Regions from separate parts of the Homo sapiens genome. Here all the other regions are linked to region 3. Evidence: promoter capture Hi-C in 16 types of primary human blood cells and fetal thymus (Javierre and others, 2016). All regions are on one chromosome and are shown on one strand. Each heading gives the region's core, a stretch centred on a gene start or on the middle of the fragment in contact. The rest is flanking DNA. Distances are from core to core; before and after follow the strand shown. Region 1 overlaps LOC105369711 (a long non-coding RNA gene). Region 2 has its middle 420 kb from the start of CCDC91. Region 3 holds the start of PTHLH (parathyroid hormone like hormone). Region 4 has its middle 460 kb from the start of FAR2. Region 5 has its middle 400 kb from the start of CCDC91.

Evidence for each region. The method cuts DNA at HindIII sites, captures the fragments that hold promoters and counts their contacts. A CHiCAGO score of 5 or more calls a contact.
Region 1: a fragment that was not itself captured here is called in contact with the fragment with the promoter of PTHLH in region 3 in 2 of 17 cell types (M2 macrophages and M0 macrophages); the score reaches 5.7 in M2 macrophages.
Region 2: a fragment that was not itself captured here is called in contact with the fragment with the promoter of PTHLH in region 3 in 1 of 17 cell types (M2 macrophages); the score reaches 6.6 in M2 macrophages.
Region 4: a fragment that was not itself captured here is called in contact with the fragment with the promoter of PTHLH in region 3 in 1 of 17 cell types (M0 macrophages); the score reaches 5.6 in M0 macrophages.
Region 5: a contact is called between a fragment that was not itself captured here and the fragment with the promoter of PTHLH in region 3, in 1 of 17 cell types (M0 macrophages). The highest score is 5.6, in M0 macrophages.

What each region holds. Positions count from the first base shown.
Region 1 is chr12:28,728,277-28,731,433 of GRCh38, reverse strand. All of the region lies in intron 2 of LOC105369711 (a long non-coding RNA gene), which reads left to right. Among named protein-coding and RNA genes, the nearest start is that of FAR2, 420 kb to the left of the region's middle. The HindIII fragment of the contact is 201 bases long and covers 1,548-1,748 here.
Region 2 is chr12:28,612,062-28,615,364 of GRCh38, reverse strand. No RefSeq gene overlaps it. Among named protein-coding and RNA genes, the nearest start is that of CCDC91, 420 kb to the right of the region's middle. The HindIII fragment of the contact is 1,320 bases long and covers 1,095-2,414 here.
Region 3 is chr12:27,971,008-27,974,330 of GRCh38, reverse strand. PTHLH (parathyroid hormone like hormone) reads left to right here and starts at 1,598. Exons shown (of 6, transcript NM_198965.2): 1 at 1,598-1,808; 2 at 2,312-2,404. The HindIII fragment of the contact is 3,977 bases long and covers 1-1,678 here.
Region 4 is chr12:28,692,111-28,695,112 of GRCh38, reverse strand. No RefSeq gene overlaps it. Among named protein-coding and RNA genes, the nearest start is that of FAR2, 460 kb to the left of the region's middle. The HindIII fragment of the contact is 615 bases long and covers 1,044-1,658 here.
Region 5 is chr12:28,591,821-28,594,873 of GRCh38, reverse strand. No RefSeq gene overlaps it. Among named protein-coding and RNA genes, the nearest start is that of CCDC91, 400 kb to the right of the region's middle. The HindIII fragment of the contact is 831 bases long and covers 1,107-1,937 here.

The DNA.
Region 1 (3,157 bases), core at 399-2,898, 760 kb before region 3:
TCCATCAGTATTTTTTTTCTTTCTATCTATGAAAATTGTGCATTTGAGGTTAAGATAAAACAAATCAAAGTTTTTCCATTGAAACAAATGAAAATAATTTCTTATTTAACAGCTTTGAACTTAATAGCAATGTTTTGGAAATAAATTAATTCATGAACTTGTTTAAATTGTTCCATTAATATTTTTTTCTTTCTATCTTTGAAAATTGTACATTTGGGATTAAGAAAAAACAAATCAAATTTTTTCCATTAAAATAAATGGAAATAATTTCTTATTTAACAGTTTTGAACTTAACAGCAGTGTTTTGGGAAATAAATTAATTTGTAAAGTAAAGGCTAGGTGTACTAGTTTATCCCTCCCACTAGACTCGTAAATTCCATGTGTGACTCATAGTTAACACCAAACAAGATTTCTTGAATAAAATAAAATTTTAAAATATTAGTTACTATTAACAAACTTAGTTACTTAGCAAAAGCTATTAGCTTTGGAAATAAGTGGATTATAAGTCTAAAGGCAAAGGAACTGCATGTAAGCACTGTACTTTAGTTAGTAAAGTTGTTTCCCATGGGAGCATGGGTTGACTATTCTGAAACCACTATATGTATATACTGAAATTGGATAATTAAACATAGATGGTGGATAATTTCATTAACAATTTAACTAGTGCCAGCTCCCTTTTTACATCTGCAGAAGATGTGATTTAGGTGGTGTAACAATCTAAGACTGACAGGACATAGATTGCACACCCAAACAACATTGTTAAGCAGAGTTAATGAAGAGACTATCTATGGTGATGAGGCCAGGACTGAAAAAAAATAATAATAACAGAAGTAGAAACACCAAGAGGCTAGCAACAGCAAGGGTCTGTATCCCTGAAGAGAAAAGGGAATCTCAGATAAGGCTGTGGCTCTAGCAGAGGCTGTAGGAGAGGACCACTGATGGAAACAGTGCCTTCATTAGAGGAAGGCAACCAGTGCCAAGTCCTGGCCAGGAAGGAAGTTGGCTGCAAGGAAAATACTCCAGTCCCTCCCCCCACCACCCTCAAGCCTCCTGCCAGTGGCTCTCATTGGCCAAATGCAAATGAAAGAGAACAAGGAAAGATTCCAGTTGATGAATTCCATATAAATCAATCTCCTGGGCACAGAGAAAAGTGGAAAAGGGTGGAGTGCAGATCTAGCAGGACAAATAGAGAATAACAAGCACATGATTAATCTAATACAGAAAATTGGCTGAGCACACCAAAGACCAAGCCCATTTCTTTCATAAATTTTTCAACTGTTTAACTCTATTTATCTCTGTATCTGGATGAATCAAGTCTTTGGACAGAGGTGTTTTGGGGTTGACTGGTCATAGCTTAGAAGGCATAATACCTAAATAGCTAACTATATGACTGTGTGATATGGAATATTTAAAGAAGCTTCTATCCACCCCAACTGTCCACTGGCAAATTCTGAATACCAGTGTACTTTTAATCATGAGGTCTGAATAAAAAGACAAATACTTTTCATGACCTTGACAGATAGATTGAGATCTTTTTATAAAAAGCTTCAAAACCTATTTAAACTTTTTGTTTGCCATAAAGATCTAGCTAAACTTCCATTTCTCACTCCGTCCCCTTTGTTTTTGCCTAGATGGGGTGAGATGAAAGGAGTTAACTTCACTAAACTCATCTCTTTTGATAAAGACTGAAGACCTTGATCAGGTTTCTTTCTAATACTGTTAATCCAAATTGTCCCACAGCATAAGCTTGTTCTCAAAACAGTTGAAGCTGAATGTTGTTCAGCATTTAAACTGAATCACCACTTGTTTTTAACCAAAGTTATTTTTATTTCAGCCAATTGCCCTTTAAACACTAAACTCAAAGGAAAGTTTGAATTTCAAAAGTAAGAATTGCTCTGACTATAGTGTGCAAGACTTTTGGTCCTCCTCTTCCAGTTTGGCTAGCCTTTCATTTCTCTCTCCTAGCACTTCTGAGAACGAAGAAACTGTATATCTTCATTGTTTAAGATAATCCTCATGCCTCATCACTTGAAGTATATTGTTGCCTAACAAAGACCTACCTTCCCACATTTGTATTTACCTGCTTGTTTTACATCTTCTAACCAGCCAAATAGATGATGGTCACTGTACATTCATATAGATGGGTATACCACCATACTTCTAAGAAATGCTTTCTCCTGAAGGCAGAATTCTGCTGGTGCCTGTTCTAACAATCCAAAGAAATTAAAGGAATTTTCTATCCAAATGAGTACTGACTCTCCATGTTTATTGAATTTGACTGTTTACTCAAGATATGGGTGTCAAACCAGCCTATTTGTATGAAACACATTAGAGTAACTACCAGCCAGTATCAACCTGTTCAGAGATTTGAAGGGGAATAAAAGGAATCTACAAGTTTATATGAGCTTTTGTGGAAAATGTAAATGATTTGAGAATATTTTTAAGGCAGTGTGGTACAGTGAGAACACTGAACTCGATTCAGGTGATCTCAACTCCAGTCTCCATTATGCCACCAAAAGGCTGTGGAACCAGTGGTAACCCAATGAATGTCTAAAACCCTTAATTTTGTTATTTATAAAATGGGAACAATACATTTTTGACAAGATTATTATTACAATTAAATGAGATTGTATGTATAAAGGACATTTATACAGCATATATGAACATGCTATGTAATGTAAGGAGGGAAATTAAATCAAGCATGTCCCTATCTACTTCTCCTACTTAAAATCTATAGAAAGAACAGAGAAGATGCCTCTCAAATCCACAACTCCTCCAGGAAACAAGAAAAAGGTTCAATAATGGCCCAGAAATTTGGAGGAGTTCCCTGAAAGGTTAAAAGCTGGTAGGATCAGATTAATAAAATAAGCCACACTCCAGAGCTTACATATGAAAAAAAAAGTAAATGAAAAAGGGTAGGAGGAGTTCAGGGAATTCTACATATTTAGAATTAAAAATTTAAGGAGCAGAAGGATTCTCTATAAAAACCATCTGGGGTACTGGCTACCAAACAGCATTCATAGTGCATAGGCAGATAAAGCTTCTCCCCTAACTTGTGCTAAGCAAGCACTGAATAGGACAGTGTGGGTACTTGGAGCAGAGAAATCATAGACAGTTGGTCATACTCATATTGAATAGGGATTCTCCACTACTGAAA
Region 2 (3,303 bases), core at 505-3,004, 640 kb before region 3:
CTTAGTTTAATTGATCGAGACCCCTACAATTTTTCTATTTAAACTATTTTCCTATTAGTTATTCTTGCAAGTTTAGATAAATTTGAGAAACTATTAATTAAGCTTCATAAAATATTTCATTGGAGCTTTGAAATTATGTAACATTTATATAGTACTTTGGAGTAATTTGAGTTCTTTACAATATTGAATAATTACATCCAAGAGCATGGTACATGCCCTATTTATTTGTCTTATTTTATGTTCTTGATAAAGATTTATAGTTTTCTTCATATAGGTCTTGTATGTATCTTGCTCTACTTTTTAACGGATTATTTTTGACATCTTGTTTCTCCAGGTTGCATGACAGAAATGAGGTCATTAGACTGAGGCAATTGCTATCGTTCAATTGCTTTGGTTTCACTCTGATATTTAATGTTTTAAAAAGGATACTTATTTCTTCCTCTCTACTCAAGCAAGGCATTGTCTTTCACTGTGACAGTTTGGAAGAACCCATTGCATTTGACCTGCAAATTTCCTTTCATCTGATTCAAATTTATGTTCTGTTGCATGAATGATGACAGGGTAGTTGATCCCAATTGGCTCAAATCTCATCAGCCAAATGGTTCTTGAATTCTTATGTCTTTTAAATAATGGCTCCCTCTGAAAATGTTAGTTATAAAATCACAGCACAATTCTTCTTACACAGCAGGATGTCACATTTATATTAAACCCTTGTGGGCAACAGTGTAGTACATATTGCACACGTGGGCCTGTGGGAGCAATTTAAGGCTTAATGTGTACAGAAAAATGGAAGACAAGATTCCTCTTAAGAGAAGTGGAGACTCTGAAATATTTTTCTAAACCCAACAAATGAATTGGAAATGGTGAACTGCCATCACAAGAGCCCATTCTTCATCATCCTTGTGATACGTAAAACTGTTAGGCTTTCACAAAACAGAAATTTCAAACCTACTTTGAACTTCATATTATGGCATAGCATGCTTTCAAATGTTTACAATAATTTTTATTGATAAAAGTTTTTTTCTTCCATGTTTTAAATGTGTATCTATTTCTGTGTTTTTGCAGTTCTATAAATCTAACTAGAATGTTAAGCTTTGATTGAACTGATCCAACATCTGTGACTTAAAGAAAGTATTTTAGAAGTTCTTATCTTTCTTTACTTTCCACCCATTTTTTATCTTTTTCTCATATTGTTTTCCTCTTTCTTCCTTCGATGATGCATCTGCAAGGCAAGGAACACCAAGGATTGCAGCCACCACCAGAAGCTGAGAGACAGTATGGAACAGATACTCCCCCAGAGCCTCCAGAACAATAGGATAATTAATTTCTGTTGTTTAAAGCCATGCATTTTGTTGCATTTTGTTATGGCATCTCTAAGAAACTAGTATACTCTGCTTAAGAGTATAAACATTGGTTCTTCTCTCTAGTGTGCAAATTTGGAATCCAAGTTCAGTTCTTCCCTACTCCTCTGCATCCTTGCCTCCCCAGAGATGCTCATCAGCATATTCCAGGACTAAACATTCTGGATATGTGTTATAATGTACTGCAGTGGGGAGAGGCATATACACTAATAGATAGAATACTCAGTTTTCCTTAAATCTAACTTGATACATATATTGGCTTTTATAATCTGAACCTGCTTTATCTTCCAAGCCAGAAACTACCTCTGGAAAAGAATTCAGTCCTTTATATTGCCTCCAAGCCACATTTTCAGCTCCAGGATGAAGTGCCCTGTCAATACCTCTGCCCCCATTAACTGGATCATGTAGATCCTGTGCTTAGAACCCTGTTACAAGTCTCTCTCTCCTTAGGTACCACAGCATAGACAGAAATCCATTAGGCAGGACTTACACCTCAGAGCATTTCACATAAATCCTTTCCTTTGCCACACTCAGCACTGCTTACTCAAATATTTCCCCTCTCCCACCTGCTGGCCTCCTGACTTAACATCTGCCTCCATGTATGATCTCTATTCAAGCCTATACATACGTGTGTGTGTGAGAGAGATATATATATCAAATATATATGTCACATGTGATATATATCACACACTCAAATATACATAACACAAACAAGTATATATACACATATATATGCTTGTATTTATGTGTATATACACGTATATGTATACATATATACACATATATATGTATATATATAATTTGCTTTAGTTTAACCCTGCACTACACATGCCATTGCTCATCCTCTGAGCCTTTTTACTGGCCTCACAATCCTATGATCAAAAGTATCTCTCTCCTGGCTCGCTATAAGATTTATACCTTCAAATGTCTTATTATATTCAACACACATAAGATTTGAGGGGAGAGGAGGGAGTGCTGCTATTCCACTTGGGCACACATTGTGTTAGGGAGGACTTTCATCACTGGAGCATTTGAATGTTTTATGTACAAGCTTCTTCTAGAACAATTATTTTATGATTTATATAATCCCATGGGTCACTGTTTGATCTAAGACACAAATGCAGCATTTTTGGTGAAGTCAGTGGAAATCTACATTTGTCCTCTGATGGAAGGAGTTAAATTCAGATAGGGTGAGATAATTTCACCAGATGCCATATATTTCTTATGTAAAAACTAAAATTTTAGAAATAATAAAATTAGCAAAAAAGAAAAATTCTTGCATTATCTGACATTCTTCACTAGGAGCCATCCAAGGATAAGCAATAGGCTTTCTGTCCGTAGACTATTTGACATAAATAGGGACATGTTGAGCATTTTGGAATTATTTAGAGGTTGTTTTATAGAGGTATTCCTATCTCTAGGAACTCAGACTCTCAGACTTTTCATTTTCTTTGCTTTGAATTGTAGAGAATACTTCATGGGACAAAGCAGGAAAACCACCAACAAGAAAAAATGATCCTGGGTGGAATTCCAGAATTGATCTTCAGACATAATGTCCCCATCCCCAGTACAATGTGCATTATTTCATCTACACAGGGTAACTGACACGAGTGGACCTCCAGGTCTGGAGTGTAGGACATGGCTCACAAAGAAGCCCAGAGGAGAGAAACAACAGAGTCTGTGCCACCTGCCTTAGGCTTCCATAGGGAATGATGAGGATGACAAAAGATTGTGCCAAGGTTGGGTCTAAATGACTCATTATGCTTGTTTGATCTGCCTCTCACCTTTCCCAAACCTGCTGACTGCCCTGAGGAACTATCTGTGTGATCAATTTCACAGTGGAAAGAGTGAGGGAAGCATTTCTTCCTGATAGACCTATTCTACTGCACCCCCCAACTCCAATCTCAACTGTGAAGTTTCGTGGGGGCACTGCTTTCAGTGT
Region 3 (3,323 bases), core at 349-2,848:
AGGTTGAGAGGTTGTCGCCTGAGCCAGGTGGGGCTTGGAACTCTCTCTGTGGCCTCGTACAAGTCCAGAGCTGCCTACTTTCAGGAGCCAAAAACTTGGCCAGCCAAGGGCAGGCATCTGGCTGGCTGGCACCAGTCCAGGAGATCAGGACTGGGACACTGCACATTCATATTCTCTCTCTCTCTCTCTCTCTCTCTCTCTCACACACACACACACACACACACACACACACACACAGAGACATATCTGAAGAAGACTCTTCAGATATGTTTCAATTGTCAGGAGTTTGCGAGGTGCTCAAGTGCTTGACCTTTAAGAACCGGTTCTCAGAGACCCCCATTTCCTAAAGACCTTCTCATCTCACATTGGTTTGGGTTCCTCCCAGGAAACCGCCTCCTCTCTGGGCCTCCTGCTTCAGTTTGGGGGAAGCAGAACATTGCCCAGGAAGTAGGGAAGGGTGAGGAAGGGTGTGAGGCCCACTTTTCCCATGGGAGGATCCCATCAGCTTGATGCATATCTATACACTCCTCCCTGAGGCAGTTCCTCCAGAGGTTAGCAGCCCGCCCTGTTCCTGGAGAAGTCTTATCCTCACCTAACTACAAAAAGATTTAATAAAGAAACACACCCTTTCCTATTGTTACTTGGGGTTTGAAGGCATTACATCTTTTTTTCTTTTTTGCTACCTTGAGGTCAGCTGGCAACAGCCTCCTCTCAAGTCTCAGTCCAGGCGAGCGATGAGAGCCACATTCTAATGGAATCCAATGAGAGCATTACTTGAGCTGATTATGCAACGTCTCTTTGTAAACATTGAAAAAAGTTTGGAGAAGAGATGGGATGAGTTTAGTTGTTTGGTTCCAGGGGATTTTAGAGACATAGCTTGCAGCTACAGATTGGTAAATGTGAAATCTGGATGCTTATTGGTAATAAGAGAATTCCCAAGCCCAGGTGCACTGTTTAAAGTGCTATAGATTCATATTTGGTTTATAATGTATATCTGTTTGCTGTTTGGGTTAAGGAGGAAAGAAGAAAGAAGGATGAAGAGGCTAAGCATAAATGCTATTTACTTTTTTCTAAGCTATGACAGGAGATATACATTAACTGGGTATTCAACTGAATTTAAGAGTAATGCATTTAAAATTTTTTCAACCTCTTTTAAAATTTGATATACTGTAATAAACTGCCACTGGGGATGGGAAGATGGAAGCCTGGTGCTCATGGGCTAGGCATTTGTGTAGGTGTAGATCTTATAATGCTAAACATGGAAATACTTCAGATTAGAGGCAGGCCTTCCCATTTGCTAAGGTGCATTTACATGACAGCAAGGCCTAAGCAAACATTTAGCTTCTATTGGCACTTGTTCTATTTCTAAACCTTAGAAAAAAGGTGTGTGTGTGGGCTGGGGGGACGGGGGGGGGAGGGAGGTGGTAGGGGGTGCTCTTGCTGTGTCTCATTTGCAGTCATGCATCCTCTGCATTATTATGATGGAGATTACTCAGTTATGTTAGGAACTAGATTATGATGTCAGAAAATATCCTTTCCAAAACAGGCAAAAAGTCAGGGTCCTGGGTATATATTGAGGAGAATTTCTACGGAAAGTAATAAACAGGGCAGCTTGGAAGAGGTACCTGCTTTCTAATAATTGCCTTTAGTGGGAACAGAAGTCTCCTTTCAAGAAGCTTTTAATTCATTTTAAGATTTAATTTTATGTTTTCTGAAGAACAACAAAAAATATTTCTGGAAAAGACTGCTGAGAAGATTTCCCTCTTTCAGCCAGAAGAGCAGAGAGAAGATTGTAAATCAAGGAAAAGGTGAAGTAATAAATTAGGAGGGAACTTTGGTATTCCGAGTATATAAAGACTATTTATTTTTCCTGTGTCTATATTTTCTCTTTTTGTGGAGGAGAGGAAATTCTAAAAATATTTGATAGATGTTTTGCCATTAACACCAGAAAAGTGTGTGGGGAAAAAGAAAGGAGGGAAGGAGTGGGGGGTTAATTTTGTTTAATTAGTAGAAAAAGCAACATAAATCAAAGCAGTCTATTGATGCCAGTCCTTAATTTATAATGTTCTGAAAGTAAAGTGAATTTATTTACAACATAAGTGATTTGATAATTTCAATCTGATTTTTGTTTTAACCTTCTATTGGGAGAAGGGTTGACTTTTTAAAGCCTGGATAGTTTGAAACTTGGCTAGGTACCTTGGACTTTTTATTGTGGAAGCAAATATTATCATTTCAATGTTAAACAACTTGCAAGTATTAAATGGCTCATTTGTGATTGACTTTTTTTTTTTTTTTTTTTTTTTTTTTACAGATTTCCCCCTTCAGATCTAACGATTACATTAGGGCTCCTGCATCTTTTTGGAAGGATTCTTTTTATAAATCAGAAAGTGTTCGAGGTTCAAAGGTTGACATTTCTGAGTGCTGATACTTTGTCCTTTCATACTATCCAAACAAGTCTAACATTTAGAAATCCTTACACATTCAAGGGAAGTTGTGGAAATTCCCAGAGAGAGAGTGTGTGTGTGTGCGTGTGTGTGTTTTGGTTTTGTTTTGCTTTTTTTCTTTGTTAGTGAGAAGAAGCCGAGTCTTTTAAGGTACGGGGTTTACAGTAATGAACTGAGGAAGGCAGGAGCTTCTAAGAAAATATGCCCCCCCACCCAACCTAAGCAGTAAACTTTAACTGCTAGCTAGCTGCAGTGAACCAGTGGGAGCCCCGATGAGCGAGGGTCTCGGTGACAGCGTGCTATTTCTCCCACCCTGGGTAAAATATGTGGAGCATCACCCGGAAAGTCGGGCTTGATAAAGGCCACATTCCTTGAATCATCTCAAGAATCTAAATCACACTAGCCTTCTAGAAACTAATGAACCCTACCAGCAGGATTGCCTAGAAGACAAATATCCCTTGAATGGTTCCCAGTCCACTCGCGCTCTTTTCAAAAAGTTAGAGGAGCCCTGGGGAGGGTATCCACTCCCGCTGCAATCCTTTCCTAGATGATACTACCCAGTAATTCCGAGCAGTCTTTCTTCCCCGCCCATTAGCTTTGGAAAGAACCTCGGCTTTCCCGTCGCTTCTCCCAGGCAGAGCAGCACATAACCATAGTTCCACTGCATCTGTCCGCTGGCTGCAGCGACTCGGATACAGTCTTCCAAGAATCTGTAACCTGGGACTTTTGAGGGGGAGGGGACAAGCAGGTAGGGTATCAGAGAAAGGATGGGTTAGACTCCCGACCATGAGTGAAAAGGGCCGTGTGCGTGCTCCAGGAGTGTCGGTCCCCCTCTGCAATTCAAAAGGGGGATCTCTCCTGTGCGCGGGTTTTTTGGGA
Region 4 (3,002 bases), core at 102-2,601, 720 kb before region 3:
ATTCTCTCAGCATTTGTTTGCTGAAAGTTGCATTTGGGTCTTTTTCTTGAAGACTTTGGGATGAGATTATCGTCTAAATGGTTGAACTTTGAGTAAAGCTGATTGTCCTCCACAAAGTGTTGAAGGCCGGAATAGAAGGCCAATCAGTTGAAGGCCTGAATAGAACAAAAAGCCTGGCCTGCCTAAGCAAGAGGAAATTCTCCAGCGAATTGCTTTTGGACTGCATCTTCACTATCAGCTGTGCCGGGTCTCCAGTCTGCAGGCTACAGATTTTGAACTTCCCAGCCTCCAGAATTGCACAAGCCAATTCCTTATAATAAATCTCTTTCTATATATGTATATACATTCTCTTGGTTCTGGTTCTCTGGAGAACCCTAACTAATAGACTATCTCAAACTTGTAGCCTATAAGCTGGTGCAATTGTAGGGATCATCTTGTGTAATTACCTATTGTCCAAGGTCTGAAAACTTTTTCTTTCATGTATATTGACCAGTTTTCTACTTGTTTAAGGTAGATCATTTAATTCAGTCCCTGTTACTCTATCTTTACTGGAAGTAGAAGTCCTCCTTGCATTTTTTTAACCCCATTCATCTCTCATTAGAATCTCAGGATGATACGAATTGGAGTTTGAGAAATTATTGAAACAAACACTTCACATTACAAATGAGACCTGAATCCCATTCTTTTCTGTGTGAACAAACATTTACTGGGCAGCTTTTAAGGACTTGGAATGTACATATTGCATGCTGGAAATTAATAGAGTGGTATCTCTAGTGCTTATGATTAAAAAGTTACTTTAATCTCTCACTCCTGCTTGTTTTTCTGAATTTTGTCTGAATTTGGAAGATAAAGAGTTACTTCTTATTAAATCCAAACAATTGGCAGAGAAGAATCAATGGATTTATATCTTCTCTGGAATTATAAATCATATATCAGAATTGTCTGTCAGTTTGCTCCCTCACTAGAGACACCACTCATTAGAGAATGAGCATCAGCTTTAAGCCTAATGGGTTTATGACACTTCATCGCTGAATATGCAAGCTTACTTACTATTCACAGATAGCACAGGACATCAGCAGTCCTCCCCAGAACATGCCACACCTGCAGAGAGGGTGTGACACATATGCAACCTCTCTACAGGCCACAAGACTCCCAGCTAAATACAGAAGAGATTAAGCCCTATACTTCCAATTCCTTCTACAAAACTCAGATCTGGAGAAGAATGAAAAACGGGCCAAAGAGAGGTCAAAAGAGTTACGCTCATGGAGATTTCTTCCACAGAGTAGTACGGGCAGTGGAGGATAAGTGTTCTCCCTAACACTGTTCATTTTACTGTCTGGCAAGTCCTTTCTCTTTGTTTTATGCATATTTATTAAAAGTCTCTGAACTCCAAACCTCTTGCCAATGTTTCTTAAGCCTGATGATTCCTACTATTGCTCCACAACGTGTATATGGGAGTTCCCATGTAGGAAGAAAAATAGCATCCTTGTATAACTAATTAAGAAAGATTAAAGGAAAGCAAAGAATTTAACTATCTTTACATAGAAAAGGTGGCCGGTGTTTTAGTGAGTATTTTCTCAAAATCTATACCCATGCCTGGCACATATTAAGCACTAAATAAATCTGTTAGATAAATGTTCAAATAATTAGCCTAAGCTTATAGACAAGAGTCTAAAACATTGATGGCAAAATTCCCAAAATGCAAAATAACTCAAGCAATAGGCATTCAAAAGTATTGATTTATATTACAGAGTCAAAACAAGGTGGAGAGTATGGATTCTAGACTCCAGGCTTGGATTTTGGCTCTACTTCTTTGACATCTTGTTATAACCCCCTGAGCCAAAGTCTTCTCATCCGTACATTAAGAAAAATAATATTGGCCAGGTGCAGTGGCTCACGCCTGCAATCCCAGCACTTTGAGAGGCCGAGGTGGGCGGATCACGAGGTCAGGAGATCGAGACCATCCTGGCTAACACAGTGAAACCCCATCTCTACGAAAAATACAAAAAAAAATTAGCCGCGCGTGGTGGTGGGCGCCTGTAGTCCCAACTACTCTGGAGGCTGAGGCAGGAAAATGGTGTGAACCCAGGAGGCGGAGCTTGCAGTGAGACGAGATGGAGCCACTGCACTCCAGCCTGGGCGACAGAGTGAGACTCCATCTCAAAAAAAAAAATAAAAATAAAAGAAGAAAGAAAAATAATATTATCTACCCCAAATGGTTCTTTGAGGGCAAATGAAATGATCCATTTAAAGTACTTAGCTCACACAGTGTCTAATACATATTGCTCAATAAACATTAGCTAATAGTAATAACATAGTGGTATTAACCAGTTGAGCAAGACCACAGAACTCTCCTTATTTCTGATCTGCAAAATAGAATAATTATAATTCCACTGCCTTGCCTCTCCAACATTTTGTTAAGAGGGTCAAAGAAAATGTTCATTGAAGAGCTGTATGGATACAAGACATCCCCATGAGTCATATTTTTTTCATACTCCCCTGCTCTTCATTTACTGATGGCCCTAATAAATATGTAGAAAGCTAGGGATATTTGAGGAGAGATAAGTGTGTTATAGGCTAAGAGGCTTTTCTGAGCCCATCTGCAAAGCTGCTGACAGTCTTTTTTATTGGTAAGAGTTGTGCCTCTTCACTAGGCTGTCATCATTTCTTTTCTCAAACTGGGTGTGGGTGGGGGCAGCCACAGCTGACAGGCAGCCTCTCTGGGTGGTCTCTGTGTTGCTGCTCAGACTGTTGCTGCTGTCATTTCTTAAGTAATCATCTCCTCAGCTTTTTTATGGCATTGACCTCCCTTGCATTCATTGACCTCTTTTGCAGATCATGCAGTCATTTAACTGTATCAGCTGCAAATATTGACAGCCAAACAATTTCAAAGGCAGCAAATCAATTTATGAAGTATAACGTCCCTGATTAAGTATATATATATATAATATATATATTATATATATATTATATATATATTATATATTATATATATATTATAT
Region 5 (3,053 bases), core at 273-2,772, 620 kb before region 3:
TTCCCCATGAATATATGTTAAAGGAAATCACAGAAGTATATGAATACATCATTTTCTTAAAATAAAATAAAAAAATAAAAAAGTTACTGATGAAATAGAAATTTTCTTTAGCCTGTGTCTCCTTTTCAAGATTCCCCATTTCTGCAATGTAATCACTACTATAAATTAGTGTATAGCCTTCACATCTTTAAAAAATTACTTGTAAATATTTGTGTACATATCCACAGAATAACCATGTTATTGCTTTGTGCATATTTTTAAATTATATGTAAATCATATGTTGTTCATTTGTTATGCAACTTGCTTAATTCATGAACTATTATATTTTTGAGATCTATTCTTATTGCTACACGTAGTAATAATTCATTATGCTTAAATCCTGTATAACAGCCAAATTTTAAATTCAATGGATATAATATTGCTAACATTAGTTTTTTGGTAGACAGTGAGTATGTCTGCTATATCCTTATCCATCCTTTTAGCATCATTTCATCTTAAGTGGGTCTCATAAAGAGCATAGAGCTAGATTTGTTTAAAATCTGGGGTTTCCCACTTTAAAAGAAAAGTTTATCCCTTTTGCATTTATTATGATTCATAATAAATTTTAACCTATTTCTTTCATCTTTTTTTGTTGTTTTTTTTACCATACTTTTTCCTTGTTTCTTCTACTTGTATCTTCCTCTTTCTGTCTTCCAATGGAATAGGGTGTTTTCTTGGATCTATTTTTTCTATTTGCTGGATTTCAATTTAAAGTTTTATTTCTTATTTTTTAACTATTACACAAATATTTAACATGAACTATAGTTTTCATTTTCTTAGCAAAGTCTCAAAATGGGAAGTTTATGGGTAAAGAAAATTTATATTTTACTAGTAAATGCCATCTGTGTTGTATTTGAGGTTTTTTTCTTCTCTGAAAAAATTTAAGCTTAAGAAGAAAAGTTTGAAATTACAGGAAATAATTTGCCAATTGATGTCATTTGTGGGGCCTTTGAAAGACCAAGAGAGTGTAAGTGGGACCTGTTTCCCTTCTTCCCATTCAATGACTGTTGTTGGCTCACTGGGGAAAATAGTTTCCAAATTTTGCTGACCTGATGTGAGGTAAAGCTTATGAATAAGCACTTTTTGTATAAAGCTGTGCTGTCCAATATGTTAGCTGTTAGCCACATGTGGGATATTGAGTACTTGAAATATGGCTAGTGAAACTGAGAAATGCTTTGTACTGTTTTAATTTTTAAAAAGTTGAAGCAATGTAAATTATTTTTATTAAACACAAATTTGTTTTGGCAGAACTATACTTTTACTTCACACATACATTTATGTTATTGTTGTCACAATTTACACAAATTTTTAAACAATTTTTATATTGTGTATTAATAATTACAGTAATTTCAATACTTTTGTCTTTTACACTAGAATTAAAAGTGGTTTACATATCACCAATATAATACTATTCTATATTTGTTTATATACGTATCTTGTCCAGTAACTTTTATAATTTCATATGCTCTGATGTGGCTGTTTAGTGTCCTTTCATTTTAATTTGAAGAACTCCCTTTAACATTTCTTGTAAGGCAAATCTAGTGGTAATAAACTCCCTCAGCATTTGTCTAAGAAAGTCTTTATTTCTCCCTCCTTCTGAAGGATAGCTGTGCTGGGTGTAGTATTCTTGGTTGGTAACATTTTTATTCCCCCAACACTTTGAAAATATAATTCCATCTCCTTCCCACTGCAAAGTTTCTGCTGAGAAATCCACTGATAGTCTTACAGGGCTACTTTATACACAATGAGCTGCTTGTTTCTTGCTGCTTTCAAAATTCTCTCATTGTCTTTGACTTTTGACAATTTAATCATGTGTCTTGGTCTATGATTTTTGATAATTTAATTATGTTTCTTGGCATAGACTTCTTTGGATTCCTCGTATTTGTGTCTGTTAAGCTTCATGAATCTCGGATGACCATTTCCACCATTATTTCTTTAAATAAGCATTCTGCTCCTTTTTCTCTTCCCTTTCTTGAACTTCCATAATGTGTTTGGTTCTTATTCTTTTCTTTTCTTTTTTTGGTCTTCTGGATAATTTTAAATGACTTGTCTTTGATTCTTTGATTTCACTGTTTCTCTCTTCTGTTTAGTCAAATATGCTGTTGAAGACCTCTGGTGAATTTTTCAGTTCAGTGATTCTATTCTTTTGCTTCAGAATTTTTGTTTGGTTCTTTGTTATAGTTTCTCATTGTTGATATTCTAGTTTTGTTCATGTATTATTTTCCTGATTTCAGGCAGTTGTCTGTCTGTATTATAAACTAAGTCACTGAGCTTCTTTAAGACAATTACTTTGAATTTTGTTTCTTTGAGTGGGTCATGTTTCCCCAATTCTTCATGTTCCTGTGGCTTTCTGTTAGTATCTGCGCATTTGAAGAAACTGCCACCTCTCCCTTTTTTTATGGACTGGCCTCTACAGGGAAAGAATTTCATCAATTATCGTGGCTAAAGATTCTGGGAGCCTTTCAGATCTTTTCTATGATATGTCTTCTCTGGATTTGCATGTGTAGATACCTAACTGGGGGAGGGAGAGAGTTACTATGTATTTCATTTTTTTCAAAAGCCAATAATGTCTTGCACCCTCTGTTGTCTGACTGTTGTACCATGAGCCAGGTCATTGGAGGCATACTCTATTCCTCTTCCTCCCTCCCTGAGGATAAATTTTATTTGTGTGCCTTCACCAAATCTTGCTGAAATATGCAGGCTGTGGTAAGCTGCCTGTCCCTTGCCTTTGTTCTTAGCTGTCCCCAGGTATTCAAAGTCTGCCAGTCCCATCAGCATTCCAGGTGAGGTAAAACAGAAACTGGTCCCTCAAGCAGCAGTACAAAAGGCTAGGAACAATGGATTATGTTTCATTCTGATTCTTTCCTCAGGGAGAAGTCATGGACCAAAGAAATCTCTGTCTCAGCACTAAGCTGTGCAGCCTTGGGAGATGGGCTAACACGAGTAAAGTTAATTTGCTCTTCTTATTCATTTTAATGTGGTTTATTCCCAGTTTTATGCTCATCTGGGGTACT